Linked DNA regions of Homo sapiens: region 2 is linked to region 1. Evidence: promoter capture Hi-C in human tissues and cell types (Jung and others, 2019). All regions are on one chromosome and are shown on one strand. The core of a region is centred on a gene start or on the middle of the fragment in contact, and the rest is flanking DNA. Distances in the headings are between cores, read along the strand shown. Region 1 holds the start of SPI1 (Spi-1 proto-oncogene). Region 2 overlaps MADD (MAP kinase activating death domain).

Region 1 (3,819 bases), core at 464-2,963:
AGTGGATTGGTGGATGGATGAATGGATGGATGGATAGATAAGTGGATGGGTGGATTTGTGGATGGCTGGATGAATGAGTGGATGGATGGATAGGTGGATGAGTGGATGGATGAATGGGTAGATAGCTGGATTGGTGGACAGGTGGATGAGTAAATGGGTAGATGGGTAGATGGGTGGATAGGTGGATGAATGGATGGATGGATGAATGGATGGCTGGATGGATGAGTGATACCAAAAAGATACTGCATTTGTATGTTTATCACAGCACTATTCATAATAGCAAAGATACAGAATCAACATAAGTGTCCATCAACGGGTGAGTGAATAAATAACATGTTATATTGTATTTATATATATATATAATGAAATACTATTCAGCCATAAAAAAGAATGAAATTATGTCTTTGCAGCAACATGGATGGAATTGGAGGACATTATCATATGCGAAACAACGCAGAAACAGAAAGTCAAATACTGCCTGTTCTCATGGGGCTCCTGGAAACCGAAGCTGATAGGTGAATGGATGGATAGGTGGATGAATAGATGGGTGGAATGGTAGGTGGGTGGATTGGTAGATGGGTGGATGAGTGGACTGGTGGATGGATGGATGAATGAATGAAGGGGTAGGTGGATGATGGATGGGTTGATGGACAGATGAGTGGATGGGTAGATGGGTGGATGAGTGGATGGGTGGATGGATGGACAGGTGGATGAATGGATGAGCAGATTCATAGATGGATAAACAGATGGAATTGTGGACTGATGGACTGATAGCAGGTGGACGGGCTGATTAATGGACATATAGATGGTTAGATAGACAAGTAGATAAACAGATGGGTGGGTGGATGAATTGACTGACAGATGAATGAACAAACAAACGGACAGTTGGATAAATGGACACATAAGTGAATGCATGGTGGGCTTGATGAATGGATAGCTGGATGGACAAATAGACAGACAAATAGATGCATGGGAAAACAGATGAATGGTGGATAGGCAAGAAAGGTTTGTAAACCAGGAGGGTTAGATTGATATTCAGGCATTGCCAAGGGATGGGGAAACTGAGAAACCTGGGCTGGAAACAGAGCCCTAGGGATTTGAATGTGGTAATCAAGAAGCTGGGAGGGGAGGGTATAAGAACCCAGGACCCTCTTCTGGTGGTAGGGAAGCCCATGTGAACAGATTCAGAGGGAAGGAAGAAAGCAGCACTATGCTGAAGACCCTACACCTGAGCCCAGCCTCAGCCTAGGGATAGCCTAGGCAGTGGGGGTGCAGGGCCACAGGAAGAGCCAGGCCTGATAGCCTGCTAGATCAGAGCCCTCACCCAGGAAGGCTGACTCCAGAAAGTGGAGGCCCCAAGAGGCCACCCCTTCCAGCTCTGACCCCAATGAGGTGACTGTTGGCTACATAGGGATCTCAAAAGAAGCAGGCATTTGTTGGGTTAGAGCAAAAGCCTCCCAGTGGTGTGGCAGAGCTACACGTTCTCCCTCCCATCCTCCCTCCCCAGCTTAGCCCCCAAAGTCATCCCTCTCAGTCCCAGCTTCCTCTGGGCAGGGGGCCTGGACCCCATGGCTTCCCAGGCCAGCCCTTTGAGCACCACCTGCCCCAGCCGGCCAGAGACTTCCTGTATGTAGCGCAAGAGATTTATGCAAACGGGTTGGGGCGGTGATGTCACCCCAAGGGGACTATCTCCCAGCGGCAGGCCCTTCGATAAAATCAGGAACTTGTGCTGGCCCTGCAATGTCAAGGGAGGGGGCTCACCCAGGGCTCCTGTAGCTCAGGGGGCAGGCCTGAGCCCTGCACCCGCCCCACGACCGTCCAGCCCCTGACGGGGCACCCCATCCTGAGGGGCTCTGCATTGGCCCCCACCGAGGCAGGGGATCTGACCGACTCGGAGCCCGGCTGGATGTTACAGGCGTGCAAAATGGAAGGGTTTCCCCTCGTCCCCCCTGTGAGTACCGGGACTCCTCCACCAGCCCAACCCGTGGCCCTCGGACGCCTGCCTGCCTGCCCACGAACCCGCCAGCCCACCCACTGCCCTCCTGGCTTGCTATCAGTGGGAAGTCAGGGTTTCCTCCCTGGAACTCCTGGCCTGAGACCCAGCGAGGGGGCCATTGGCTTCCTCGGAGCATGCCCTGGCGGGCTGAGGCCAGGCCCACGGTGGGGCTGTGATCGGTGGGGCCTGAACAGTTATTTATAGACAGGGCTCGGGTGGCAGGCGGAGGCCGGGGCTCCTGGGGAGGGTGCTGGGCTGAGGATGGTGAAGGCGGTGGTAGAGAGGTAGAGGAGGGAGATGGGGGGACTGGCTTGGGGGAGGCCGGTCCCCTGGATGGGAAGGGGTTGAAGGCAGGAGGCAATGGGCAGAAGTCTTGGCCCATGGCCTTGGGGCTCCTGGAAACCAAAGCTGATGGAACTCTGGGTCCCCAACGCCCAGTCTGGGGCCTGGCACAGAGGACATGATTGTTGACCAAAGGGTCAGGGCCATGGGCCCACAGGGGTACCCACAGGAGACAGGGACTGGTGCTGGAAAGGAGCCAGGAGTGGAGCTGAGACAGTGCAGTTAGGGCTGGCCCCAGGGCTGGAGTTCAGGGAGAGGCGCGGCAGGGGACAGGGCTGGGACAAGGCCAGGACTGAGATTGGGGCTGGGTGGGACCTGGGGTGAGCATGTGATAAGTGAGAATGGGGGCTGAGGCTGGGACAAGGACAGGGACTGGGTCTTGGGGGTGAAGAAGTGGGAGCCCCAGGGGACCCCGAGAAGAGAAGGGCAGATCGCCACTGCTCCTCACTCTCAGTGACAGTTGCAGCCTTAGGCAGGTGTCAGACCAGGGTCCCTCGGAAAGGACCCTTCTCCCTTTTCCCACCCCATGACCTCTCAGGAGTGAGGAGGCTTGAGGGGAGCCGGGAAGGGCTTGGCAGGCTGCCCACCTGAATCCACTTTCCTGGTCTAGAGGCAGCTCCCTTCCCCCACTATGCCCTGGCTCAGAGCCACCCCAGGAGGCTGGGAGGCACCCCAGGCCTGACATCACACCAACCCGACCAGAGCCGGGCTGACATCCTGCAGCGAGGCTGTACTACCTGGAAACCCAGAGGGGCAGGCTCAGTGCTGGGCTCCTGGCCTCCTCACTTGGCCAGCCACAGGCAGGACCAGGCAGGACCAGCCAGCCTGCTGTGGCATCCACACCGACACCCCTTCCCACCTGGGAACACGAAGTGGGCGGCCCAGGCAGAGGGTGACGGAGGTTGTCTCAGAAAGAGCCAATTCTGCCTCAAGAAAGCCACAGGCCCACTGTCTCTGATCCCTGACCTCTCAATTCTGAACTCCAGGTGGAGCTAGATGGGTGGCAGAGCTCCTTGGGCCATCCCTAGGCACCCCCAGCCCTCTCTGCAAGCTCCAGGGTCACTCTGAGTGTCTCCTGGTAGGGTGGGCTCCCAAGGCAGCCCCGGTCCCCCAAGCCCAGCCCTAAGGGCCACAGTGACTGTTATGCAATCCTGGGCCACACGCTGCGGGGGCGGGGAGGCCTGATGACTGTTGGGAAGGCTCCTGGGTGTGCACGGCCCTGTGTCTGTGCCAGTAGGGGGAGGAGGACAGGGAGGAGGGAGGAAGGTGGGAGGAAAGAAGGAGGACAGGGAAGAGGGGGAAGAAAAGGAGGACAGAGGGGAGTGAGGAGGGGGAGGAGGAAGCAAAGGAGACGGGGAGGGGGATGCAGTGAGGAGGGAAGGAGGAGGATAGGGAGGACTCAGGAGGGAGAGTGAGGGGATCAAGGCCCTCCATGCGCTCGGCCCCTAAGTCTGCCTGGGTGACCCCTGCACCAACCGTCA
Region 2 (3,819 bases), core at 765-3,264, 74 kb after region 1:
CCGAGCAGCCCCTAAAGCACATCCCCCTCACAAAGAGAGGTAGAGTAATAAACAGCTATACTTTTAACAAAAATAACTGAGGGAGACTGTGGGGGTGTATCAGAAGGGTGACAGGAATGCTGATGAGCACAGAAACTCAGGATGGCCACATAGAGAACAGATGGCAATATCAGGCCTCCCCCCCATCCCCCTTCCCCCATCTAGGATCAGCTGGGAACAAGGAGGAACTTCTCCCCACAGCAAGGAAGTAAGCAAGACAATTCTAGAAACTGCCACCAGCACCTTGGACACCTACAGACTTCACCACTGGCTTCCCTACAGTCCTCTAGGCACTAAGCCCAGCTGAAGGAGCTGCCTGGAGTCCATACAGCTGTGCTCCCTCCAGAGAAGGAGCCAATACTATGCGCCAGCCCCTGTGGCCTGTGCAGCTACTGTGCTATGCCATCTTGGAAGTGGAGCTACAGTGGGATTGTGTTTTGCTCTGGGGACAGATGGCCACAGCTCCCCTTCATTCCTGAGGCTAAGCCACCAACAAACCACTCTAGCCTGATGTCTTGACAATCTAAGCCAAGCTGTGAGCAGCTATTACATGATTCCCCAAGGGGCCAAGTGGAGGCAGAGCCACTCCACCTACCCCTCCCCACTCCCCTTGGGCTGCAGCTGAAGCAGTACCCTATCCACTATGAAAACAGTACTTAGACTGCTCAGAGCAGTCAGGCCTCCCTGGTGCCTAAGGTGAAGAAGCAATCTGTATCCCAGGAAATGGTGCCTTGGCCACCCAGGGCAGTCATGCATCCTAGCACCTAACTTGAAGCGGCACCCTGCATTCCAATGATACTGTGCCTGGGTCACCCAGAACAGTCATGCCCACACTAGGCCTGTGCTAAAGCAGCACATTGTCCCCAGGGGAATTGGTGGCTGGCCAAGCTGAGCAGCTACGCATTCCAGGGCTGAGCTGACACAGTACCCCATGTCCCAGGAAACAGAGCAGTGGCTGAGCTGAGATACCTTGCCCTAGCCAAACAACTCCAGTACCCTGCTTCCCTGGAACTGGACTTGCCCCTAGAGTCTGAGCTGCTAAGATACCCTCTTCCTGGGGAGTGGAGTCATTGCTGTGCTGCTCCCTGACCCCCAGGGCCCAAATGACAGCTGTGCTCTGCCACGCTGGGGTATTCGCTGCCATTGCACTTGGCTTCACAGAGTCTAGGATACAGCCAAGCCCCACCATCCTGGAGTCTAGAGTCACTACTACATGGTGCCTCATTCCGTGGGACCTGAGCTGCCACTGAGCCCTATTGGCTCAGATCCCTGAATTGCAGCTGTACCCTGCTCCCTAGGCCCAAACCTCCAGAGCACCCCTTCTTCCACAGAGTAAGGCCAGTGCTATGGCCTATCCCCCAGTATTAGAATCACAGTTATGAGCCAGTCCCCTGGGCCTGAGCTGCTAGCGGGTGCCTCAGATCCTGGCTCTGTGGGCAACCTACATCCAACCTTGCCACAGAGAGCAAATCTGTACCCCAATACCCAGGTGCCACAATAGGTTTGTGAGACCCTAAGCCTGGAAACCTGACTCCACAGCTACTCCACGCATCTGTACCTGGAACCCAGTGCCTCTGCAGCTGCTTGTAGGCCATGTCAGTCAGACCTGACACCAAGAGGGATTCTCTTGGCTGAGTCACTCCATTGTGAGGAAAATGAGAATAGGAGGACTCCAAAACTCCTTGACACCAAGGATATTAACAACATATACCACCACTGCCACTGCCACACTTCTATAGCCTAGGACTCTTGAGGCACCCATAGTTATTGCTCATGTTGAATGCAGCTGAAGAAGCTACACAGAAAACATACCACTACATCTATCCAGAAACAGAGTTGCCATACCCTTCCCAACTGGCACACTAAAACCCAACTGCATGTGAAAGTCTTTCTCTATGAAAGCCACTCCAGAGAGTTTGGAAGAAGTGACTGTTCTGCCAGATGTGGGGTATCAACACAGAGACATAAGAAACATGAAAAAAACAAGGACATATGACTCCACCACAGGAACATAATAACTCTTTGGTAATAGACCCCAATGAAAAGGAAATCAATTAATTGCCAGAAAATAAATTAAAAGTAATGATCTTAAGGAAATGCAATGAGATACAAGAAAATACAGATAGATGATTCAACAAAATCAGAAGAACAGTTCATGATATGAATTAGAAATTCAACAAAGAGATAAAAATCATAACAAAAAAACAGAAATCTTGCAGCTGAATAATTCAATGAACAAAGTTTAAAAAATACAATAGAGGGCCAGGCGTGGGGGCTCACACCTGTAATCCCAACACTTTGGGAGGTGAGGTGGGTGGATCGCCTGAGGTTGGGAGCTCAAGGCCAGCCGAAGCAACATGGAGAAACCCCGTCCCTATTAAAAAATACAAAATTAGCCAGGTGTGGTGGCGCATGCCTGTAATCCCAGCTACTTGGGAGGCTGAGGCAGGAGAATTGCTTTAACCCACGAGTCAGAGGTTGCGGTGAGCCGAGATAGTGCCATTGCATTCCAGCCTAGGCAACAAGAGCGAAACTCCGTCTCAAAAAAAAAAAAAAGGAAAAAATACAATAGAGAACTACAACAGCAGACTTGATCAAGCAGAAGAATGACTCTATATTTGAAGATAAGTCATTCGAAATTAGTCAGAGGGAAAAAAGTTAGAATGGAAAACAGTCAAGAAGGTCTACAACACTTAGGGGATCTCATTAAGTAAACAAATATTCATATTATTGGATTTCCAAAGAGAGAAGGGGAAAGGCATAAAAAACTTATTTAATGAAATAATAGCTGAAAACTTCCCAAGTCTGGGGAGAGAGATGGACAGCCAGATCCAGGAAGCTCAAAAGTCCCCAAACAGATTCAACCCAAAAAAGTCCTCTCCAGCCAGATGCGGTGGCTCACGCCTGTAATCCCAGCACTTTGGGAGGCCAAGGCGGGCAGATCATTTGAAGTCAGGAGTTCGAGACCAGCCTGACCAACACGGTGAAATCCTATCTCTACTAAAAATACAAAAAAATTAGCCGAGCGTGGTGGTGCATGCCTGTAATCCCAGCTACTCAGGAAGCTGAGGCAGGAGAAAAGCTTGAACCCAAGCGGCGCAGGTTGCAGTGAGCTGAGATCACACTACTACACTCCAGCCTGGGTGACAGAGTGAGACTGTCTCAAAAAAAAAAAAAAAAAAGGCCTCTCCAAGGTACATTACAGTCAAATTGTCAAAAGTCAAAGAGAGAATTCTAAAAACAGCCAGAGAAGGCCGGGTGCAGTGGCTCACGCCTGTAATCCCAGCACTTTGGGAGGCCGAGGCAGGCAGATCACGAGGTCAGGAGATCGAGACCATCCTGGCTAACATGGTGAAACCCCGTCTCTACTAAAAATACATAAAAATTAGCCAGGCATGGTAGCAGGCACCTTAGTCCTAGCTACTCAGGAGGCTGAGGTAGAATGGTGTGAACCCAGGAGGCGGAGCTTGCAGTGAGCCGAGATTGCACCACTGTACTCCAGCCTGGGTGACAGAGTGAGACTCCGTCTCAAAAAAAAAAAAAAAAAAAACAGCAAGAGAAAAGTGTTAAGTCACATTTAAGGGAATCTCTATTAAACTAACAGATTTCTCTGCAGAAACTTTACAAGCCAGTAGAGAATGGGATGATATATTCAAAGCGCTGCAAGAAAAAGAATCTCAGTCAAGAATACTATACCCAGCAAAGTTGTGCTTCAGAAATGAAGGATAAACTAAGTCTTTCCCAGACATGAAAAAAAAAATGAGGAAGTCATCACACCCT

Evidence for each region. The method cuts DNA at HindIII sites, captures the fragments that hold promoters and counts their contacts. A contact is called where the count stands out against the background at its distance.
Region 2: a contact is called between a fragment that was not itself captured here and the fragment with the promoter of SPI1 in region 1, in 2 of the 25 tissues and cell types used here (IMR-90 fibroblasts and psoas muscle).

Annotation. Positions count from the first base shown.
Region 1 is chr11:47,376,441-47,380,259 of GRCh38, reverse strand. SPI1 (Spi-1 proto-oncogene) reads left to right here and starts at 1,713. Exons shown (of 5, transcript NM_003120.3): 1 at 1,713-1,951. The coding sequence starts at 1,907. RefSeq lists enhancers at 1,550-1,619, 1,115-2,066, 2,240-2,289, 2,960-3,159. The HindIII fragment of the contact is 21,953 bases long and covers 1-3,819 here.
Region 2 is chr11:47,303,010-47,306,828 of GRCh38, reverse strand. All of the region lies in intron 24 of MADD (MAP kinase activating death domain), which reads right to left. Among named protein-coding and RNA genes, the nearest start is that of MADD-AS1, 33 kb to the right of the region's middle. The HindIII fragment of the contact is 7,250 bases long and covers 1-3,819 here.